2 separate regions of the Homo sapiens genome follow, and region 1 is linked to region 2. Evidence: promoter capture Hi-C in 16 types of primary human blood cells and fetal thymus (Javierre and others, 2016). All regions are on one chromosome and are shown on one strand. Each heading gives the region's core, a stretch centred on a gene start or on the middle of the fragment in contact. The rest is flanking DNA. Distances are from core to core; before and after follow the strand shown.

Region 1 (3,887 bases), core at 1,174-3,673, 200 kb after region 2:
AGGCTTAAATACTGGACGGGCCACTTCTGGGTTTTTGGGAAATTACACAACCTTTCTGTGCATCAGTTTTCCCTTTGGTAACCTGGGGGTAATAATAGTAATAATAATAGATAACTCGGTGGGTTACTGTGACAACTAAATCAGACAGTGTATAAAAAGTAAAGCCGGCTGGGTACAGTGGCTCACGCCAGTAATCCCAGCACTTTGGGAGGCTGAGGCGGGAGGATCATGAGGTCAGGAGTTCAAGACCAGCCTGGCCAACATGGTGAAACCCTGTCTCTACTAAAAATACAAAAAATTAGCTGGGTGTGGTGGCATGTGCCTGTAATCTGGCTACTCGGGAGGCTGAGGCAGGAGAATCGCTTGAACCCAGGAGGTGGAGGTTGCATTGAGCTGAGACCTTGTCACTGTATTCCAGCCTGGGCAACAGAGCAAGACTCTATCTGGAAAAAAAAAAAAAAAAGCAAAGGCTGACACATAGACTATGTGCTCAATAAATGGTAGCCAATACTCTTATTATTACAAGTCTATTTGGACACAGGACACAAGCATAAAATGGAGAAAATAACACTTTAAAGCAGGACATGCTACATAGCAGGTGCATAGAAGCTTGCTGAGGAGAATGACTGCTGGCATGCCGGGAGTCTGGGGGGAGGCAGGCGTGACTGTGGGTCTGGAGCTGAGCCTGGAGGAAGAAGGTAGGTGTAGAGACACTTCAGAGATGGAGATGAGCAGGTGTGAGTCACGTTTTCAGGGGAACATGTAAACTGGTTTGGTCAGAGGGTTTGCTGGATGACGTTTAAGACATTTTTAACCTCAAGATTCTGTGACCAAGGGATGTGAGTACAAGAAAGGAGAAAGAAAATTTAGAGGGAGAATTGGGAATATTTATATGTGCTAGAAACTCTGTTAGTTTAATCTTATGAGGTTGACTATGGCATGGTAGATCTGAAATGTACAAATTTAGGTCATGTGTGTGTCTGTGTTTGGCCTGAGACTCTGCCAGTGGCTGGAGAGGACTGTTAGGTCTGTTTGCTTGCTCAGCCCCTCTGCTGGCCTTTTCTTCTCCCTCCACCCTTTCCTTTCCGAGGTGATCTCGTCTCCTCCCATACTCCAGGGCTCACCTCTGAGCTCATGGCTCCCAGATCTCAAGGTCCCACTCCAGCTCCTTCCCTGGCACTGACCCATCCATCCCATTGCCTGTCACACATTTCCATCTATGGGTCCCCTAGGATGTACCTCAAATTCCCCCTGCTCAGAACAGGGCCCATCTTTGTCTCTTCCTCAACCCTTCAGTTGCCAAGCCTTTCCTCTCCACCCCAACTATTGCTCCCTATGCAGGCCTTCACTGTTTTCTGCCTGCCCCACTGCAGAAGCCTCCTGTCTGGTCTCCCTGCCTTCCTTCTCGCCTGCTGTATTTTTTTATTTTAATTTTTTAAGGCAGCATCTTGCTCTGTAGCCCAGGCTGTAGTGCAGTGGTGCGATCTCGGCTCACTGCAACCTCTGCCTCCCGGGTTCAAGTGATTCTCCTACCTCAGCCTCCTGAATAGCCGGGACTACAGGCATGTGCCACCACACCCAGCTAATTTTTGTATTCTTAGTAGGGACGGGGTTTCACCATGTTGGCCAGGCTGGTCTCGAACTCCTGACCTCAAGTGATCTGCCTGCCTCAGCCTCCCAAAGTGCTGGGATTACAGGTGTGTGCCATGGTGCCTGGCCTCTTTTTTTTTTTGAGATGGAGTCTTGCTCTGTCGCCCAGGCTAGAGTACAGTGGCATGATCTCGGCTTACTGCAACCTCTGCTTCCTGGGTTCAAGCGATTCTCCTGCCTCAGCCTCCCGAGTAGCTGGGATTACAGGCGCCCGCCACCATGCCTGGCTAATTTTTGTATTTTTTAGTAGAGATGGGGTTTCACCATCTTGGCCAGGCTGGTCTCGAACTCCTGACCTCATGATCCACCTGCCTTGGCCTCCCAAAGTGTTGGGATTACAGGCGTGAGCCATGGCGCCTGGCCTTTTTTTTTTTTTTTGACACAGAGTCTTGCTCTGTTGCATAGACTGGAGTACAGTGAACATGATCATAGCTTACTGCAGCCTTGAAATCCTAGGCTCAAGGAATCCTCCGGCCTTGGCCTCCCAAAGTGCTTGGATTACAGGTATGAGCCATCACTCCCAGTCAGAATATTATCACGCCCAGCTAATTTTTGTATTTTTAGTAGAGACGGGGTTTCACCATGTTGGCCAGGATGGTCTCGATCTCTTGACCTTGTGATCTGCCCGCCTTGGCCTCCCAAAGTGCTGGGATTACAGGCGTGAGCCACTGCACCCAGCTGAAAGCCTTTTCATTATAATGAATTTTATCTTGTCGGAACTGGGAAATCAATATGGCTGTTTATGTTACTACCAATCCATAAAATAATACCCAAATATGCAGCCCTGATAACAATATGATACAGAATTTTTAATATTTCAAAATTGTTATTTTAAATTTAATGAAAAACTTAATCTTATTTGTACTTTCATATTTTTTATTTTAATCAATGACAGAGATCTTAATTTATATTGATGTTATTATTGCTTCATCCATAGCAAATACAATTCTTCATGAGAGTTAAAAATAAGGCCGGGCGCTGTGGCTCGCGCCTATAATTCCAGCACTTTGGGAGGCCGAGGCGGGTGGATTGCCTGAGGTCAGGAGTTCAAGACCAGTCTGGCCAACGTGGTTAAACCCCGTCTCTACTAAAAATACAAAAAAATTAGCTGGATGTGGCGGTGTGCACCTGTAATCCCAGCTACTCGGGAGGCTGAGGCAGGGGAATTGCTTGAACCAGGGAGGTGGAGGTTGCAGTGAGCTGAGATGGTGCCACTGCACTCCAGCCTGGGCGACAGAGCCAGACTGCATCTCAAAAAAAAAAAAAAAAAAAAAGAAAGAAAAATTTGGCATCAGAATTGAAATCTATTTATCTTCCTTTGTCCATGGAAGGGAAATACAATAAGGCACTAAATACATTGCATTTCTTCCCCTTTTTAAAATTTTATTTTGCCCAGGTACAAAACTCAAAGTTCTCAAAAGGGTATACATAATGGAAAGTCAGTCTCCTTCTCCTGTCCTCCATATAGTTCCCCACTCCTGGAAGGCAACACTGTGCACTGTGAACAGTTTCTTGCATATGCTTCCAGAAGCACTCTCTCTGTATATGCACAAACAAATACATATATGTTACATATGCTGTTTCAGTTAATCCAACAAAATTAGGTATTATAATTTTCATTTTTCAGATGAAGAAACTAAGACTTAAGAGAAGTTATTTTGCCCAAGGTCATGGAGCTAGTCCTATAGTTGGGATTCATTTTCTTAATTAAAAATTGTTTTATTTTGGCTGGGCATGGTGGCTCATGCCTGTAATCCCAGCACTTTGGGAGGCTGAGGCGGGCGGATCGCCTGAGGTCAAGAATTTGAGACCAGCCTGGCTAACATGGTGAAACCCCATCTCTACTAAAAATACAAAAATTAGCCAGGCGTGTTGGCAGGCGCCTGTAATCTCAGCTGTTTGGGAGGCTGAGGCAGGAGAATTGCTTGAACCCGGGAGGTGGAGGTTGCAGTAAGCCGAGATTGTGCCACTGCATTCCAGACAGAGTGAGACTCTGTCTCAAAAACAAAACATTTTATTTTAAGGACAGAGTCTCACTATGTTGCCCAGGATGGTCTTGAACTCCTGGGCTGAAGTGATCCTCCTGCCTCAATATCCCAAGTAGTTCAGACTACAGGCACTCGCCACTGTGGCCAGCTCTGGAGTTGAGATTCAAAGAGAAAGGTGAAGCTGGGCACAGTGGCTCACACTTGTAATCCCAGCACTTTGAGAGGCCAAGGCAGGCAGATTGCTTGAGC
Region 2 (3,807 bases), core at 822-3,321:
ACCTGCAATATTTGAGATATGCCTGTATTTCTTTTTTTCTTTTCTTTTTTTTTGAGACGGAGTCTTGCTCTGTCGCCCAGGCTGGAGTGCAGTGGCATGATCTCGGCTCACTGCAACCTCCACCTCCTGGGTTCAAGCGATTCTCCTGTCTCAGCCTCCTGAGTAGCTGGGATTACAGGTGCCCACCACCACGCCCGGCTAATCTGTAGTATTTTTAGTAGAGAACGGGTTTCGCCATGTTGGCTGGGCTGATCACGAACTCCTGACCTCAGGTGAGCTGCCCGCCTCGGTTCTCCCAAAGCGTTGGGATTACCGGCGTGAGCCACCGCGCCCGGCCTATGCCTGTATTTCTTAAAAGGGGAGCCAAAATTATGTATTTTGGTATCCATCTAGTTTACTACCGTGTTCCCAGTATTTTACACTGGGCATTGTATACAGTAGACACCCAGAAAATCTTTGAATTTAAAATTACATTGGTTCAGCCCCGTGGCTCACGCCTGTAATCCCAGCACTTTGGAAGGCCGAGGCAGGTGGATCACTTGAGGTCAGGAGTCTGATACCAGCTTGGCCAACGTGGCGAAACCCCGTCTCCACAAAAAGTAGAAAAATTAGCCGGGTGGTGGCATATGCCCGTAAAATCAGCTACTCAGGAGGCTTAGGCAGGAGAATCGCTTGAACCTGGGAGGCAGATGTTGCAGTGACCCAAAATCGCACCACTGCCCTCCAGCCTGGGCGACATAGGGAGAATCTCAATAAATAAATAAATAAATAAATAAAAATAAAATCAATTAAATTAGAACGTTTTAAGAAGCACTGCGCAGTACGTCGACCACAAGAAGTGCTCAAAGAAGGAAGAAAGAGTAAGCCGTGTGCAAGGAATGCTGCCGAAGCCACTAAGGGCAAGGGCTGATGTGGCGTGGTCTGCTACTTGAGTTGAGCCTTGCAGCTTTTCTCTTAGGAAGAGCATTAGATTTCTTTATTAATTGATGTGTACTGTGTCTACTTTTCTCTGGAGGTGCAGAAATCCATCAAAACTGATCTCGGCTCTCAAAGAGCTCACAGTCTTGTCGGGGAAGGCCCCGATACTTACAGAGTAAGATGCAAACTTACTGTGGGAACACAGGCATAGGGAGGAGCTAGTCAACTTTGAAAGCATCACAGATGACCTATGAGATGGGTCTTAAATGTTCAGAGACACTAGAGCAGAAATTCCGGAGGAAACCAGCCTGTGCAAAACTGATAAACGCAGAGATTCTCAAATTTGTAGGTGGGTAAGAATCACCCGAGAGATCGGTTTAAAATGTAGACTGCAGGGAGACACTCCCCGGTAAACTTTTGGTTCAATACCCCAGTAGCACCCATTTTAACAAACTTCCCAGGACGACAGTCAGAAAATCATAGTTACAGAAGGCAGGCTGGGGAGAGGCGGTTTCTGGGTCTCCGAATGAGGTCACACAATTAAAATTAAAAAAACGAAACCAAACCAACCCCTCCATTTGCGTTGCGCTTTCAGGGTGCTTGAGGCTTTCCTGTGCCTTACTTTGTCGGAGCCTGGCAACATCGCTGTGGGGTAGAAATTACAAGTCTCATTTCACAGGGGAGGAAACAAGTTTAGAGAGGAGGGATGAATTTGCTCAAGGTCACAAAGCGGAAGGGAGCGCAGCAGAGACCAAAAACAGGGAGACTCGACTTCCAACTCGGAAGCTTTTCAACAAGGCAAGCTGGCCCGGAGTGGGTGGGGCTCAGACTCTCCCTCCAGGCTGGTTCCAAAATGGTGGGGGCAGTGGCGTCAGCAACGCCCCCGCCCCTTCCGTCCACCGCCCTCCTCCATCTCCAGGCCACCCAGGCGGGGGGAGGGGACGGCCCCGAGCAACCCACGTGACCGCCGACAACCGAGCGCGTGACGCAAAGCGGCGGGCCCAACGCTCGCCTTGTCTTTTGGGAAACGTAGTTCTGATGGCAGCCAAGTCGGCCAGGAGAGGAGGGCGTAGGACTACATTTCCCAGGAGGCAGCGGGTCTACGCCGTCGCCGTCGTCGGAGAGCGGAGACGCTGGGCGCGCTGTGGGGCGGGGGCGAGGTTCGGGCTGGTTGTTCCGTTGCGAGCTGCAGCTGCGATCTCTGTGGTAGGCCCAGGTGAGTGAGCGCCTCTGATGGAAGTTAGGGCAGCTTAACCGGCTCTAGTGGTTTCGTCTCTTATCTTTTTTCCCCAGCTGCTGGTCAGGGGCTCGGGGAAGGCCTGGCGTGGAGTCGCTCCCCCCAGCTTACACCCTGGCCTCTTCTGAGCGGGCTCCGTTCCCTCCGGCTCCTCCCCTTCCCCGCCCTTTAGGTCTTCCCCTGGCCCCGGCCTAGCTCCCAAGGCTCTTGGTCGCCTTCTCTGCAGAGCAGCTCCTACGCCGCTTTATCTTGCAGTCGGCCTGGGGGCGGCCACTCCCTACTCCTCCCGTTTTGGTCGTATGAACCCCGTTATTTGGATTTCTTTTCCCGGAACTCCCGAGTGCCCTTCCCCCCACCCAGTCCCCATTGGCCTGGTTCGGTCTTCTCCTAGGGCGCATGTGGCTGCCACTCAGTAAATGTTAGTACCGCTTCCGTTCTTTCCAGCCTGGTGGCCAAAAACGGGATAGTCCAAATTTGTCTCCTACGGGAATATTAGAGTTCTCACTTTTTTCTTGGGCTGGAGCTGAGGCCGGCTTGCATTCCAGTGGCAATCGGCGTGAGTTCTGCTTATATGAGGTGAATTATTTTGCTTCTCTTAGCACCTAAGCAACTTTTATCAACTGTTGTCTTTGACTTTACAAATCTTAGGGGTGGAGCATGGCAGCAGAAGCTGGGGAGCAGCAATGGTGCACAGAAGTTGGAAGCCATCAGTGGCAGTACAGTGTTTATGGGGAATTTGTTACTTGGGGTGAAGGGAAAGCCTCTGAGAGTATAGAAGGACCTGGCAAGAGAGAGGCAGTGAAGCTTCTGTTGGGAGCATAACAGAAGTATCCTGAACCAGTTGGCTTGGGTTTAAATCTTGGCCCTGCTATCTTTTGATCTTAGGTCAAGAGTCTTCATCTCCAGCTGCCTCAGTTTTCTTATCACTAAAACAGCAGTAAGTAACAGTGACCCCTTTACAGGGTTATTGTGGAGACTAAATGAGATAAAATAAAAATCACTTAGCCACTGTTAAAAAGTAATATCATCATTTATAGGTTTTTTTTTTAGAGTGTGCGCCGAGAGAGATGAGGCGTGTATCACACCGTTATTTTTCTTCTGTTTCAGATGACCCTGACTTTTTTCGTTTGTGGAAGTACTGTTGTAGTCTGTTCTGTAATTCTAGACAGTCTGACGTGTGTATTATGATTTAGAAGCTTGTTAAATAGCCAAAACCGGCTCCTGCCATGAACAACTTGTGGAGCAAATCGGGCTCAGTTTGTTCTTTGCCGGGAGATGTATTTTGTGAGCCAATGTTCATACGTTAATGATAAGTTTTACTGCAGCCATTTGGGCTTAATTGCATTTTGTAAGAGAGTTGTGTTGAGGTTTCTGTAAGAAGTGATTTGATTAAAAACCTCTATATCCAGTGTAATTCCATCTCTTTGTTTTTTAAACGTTTTAACACCAGAGAAAGATCTCCAATTTTGGAGACTGATGTTTTTAGTTTTGTAGACTAGGTACAGTTCAATTTTAGCAGTGGTGATGGTAGTAGTAGTACCACCTTAGTGTATTTATTTAATACCAAATATATAGGTACTTTTAAATTTGGTTTAGCCTGCAAAATATGGATTACAAAAAGAGTGATCTATTTTGTTCCGAGGAATTGGAGG

What was found. The method cuts DNA at HindIII sites, captures the fragments that hold promoters and counts their contacts. A CHiCAGO score of 5 or more calls a contact.
Region 1: a fragment that was not itself captured here is called in contact with the fragment with the promoter of THRAP3 in region 2 in 1 of 17 cell types (neutrophils); the score reaches 5.7 in neutrophils.

What each region holds. Positions count from the first base shown.
Region 1 is chr1:36,425,287-36,429,173 of GRCh38, forward strand. All of the region lies in intron 4 of OSCP1 (organic solute carrier partner 1), which reads right to left. Among named protein-coding and RNA genes, the nearest start is that of SNORA63C, 8.7 kb to the left of the region's middle. The HindIII fragment of the contact is 3,633 bases long and covers 608-3,887 here.
Region 2 is chr1:36,222,372-36,226,178 of GRCh38, forward strand. It overlaps THRAP3 (thyroid hormone receptor associated protein 3), which reads left to right and starts at 2,072. Exons shown (of 12, transcript NM_005119.4): 1 at 2,072-2,134. RefSeq lists enhancers at 869-1,038, 1,249-1,548, 1,462-1,989, 1,949-2,158, 1,990-2,518 and a silencer at 1,699-1,818. The HindIII fragment of the contact is 1,255 bases long and covers 1,703-2,957 here.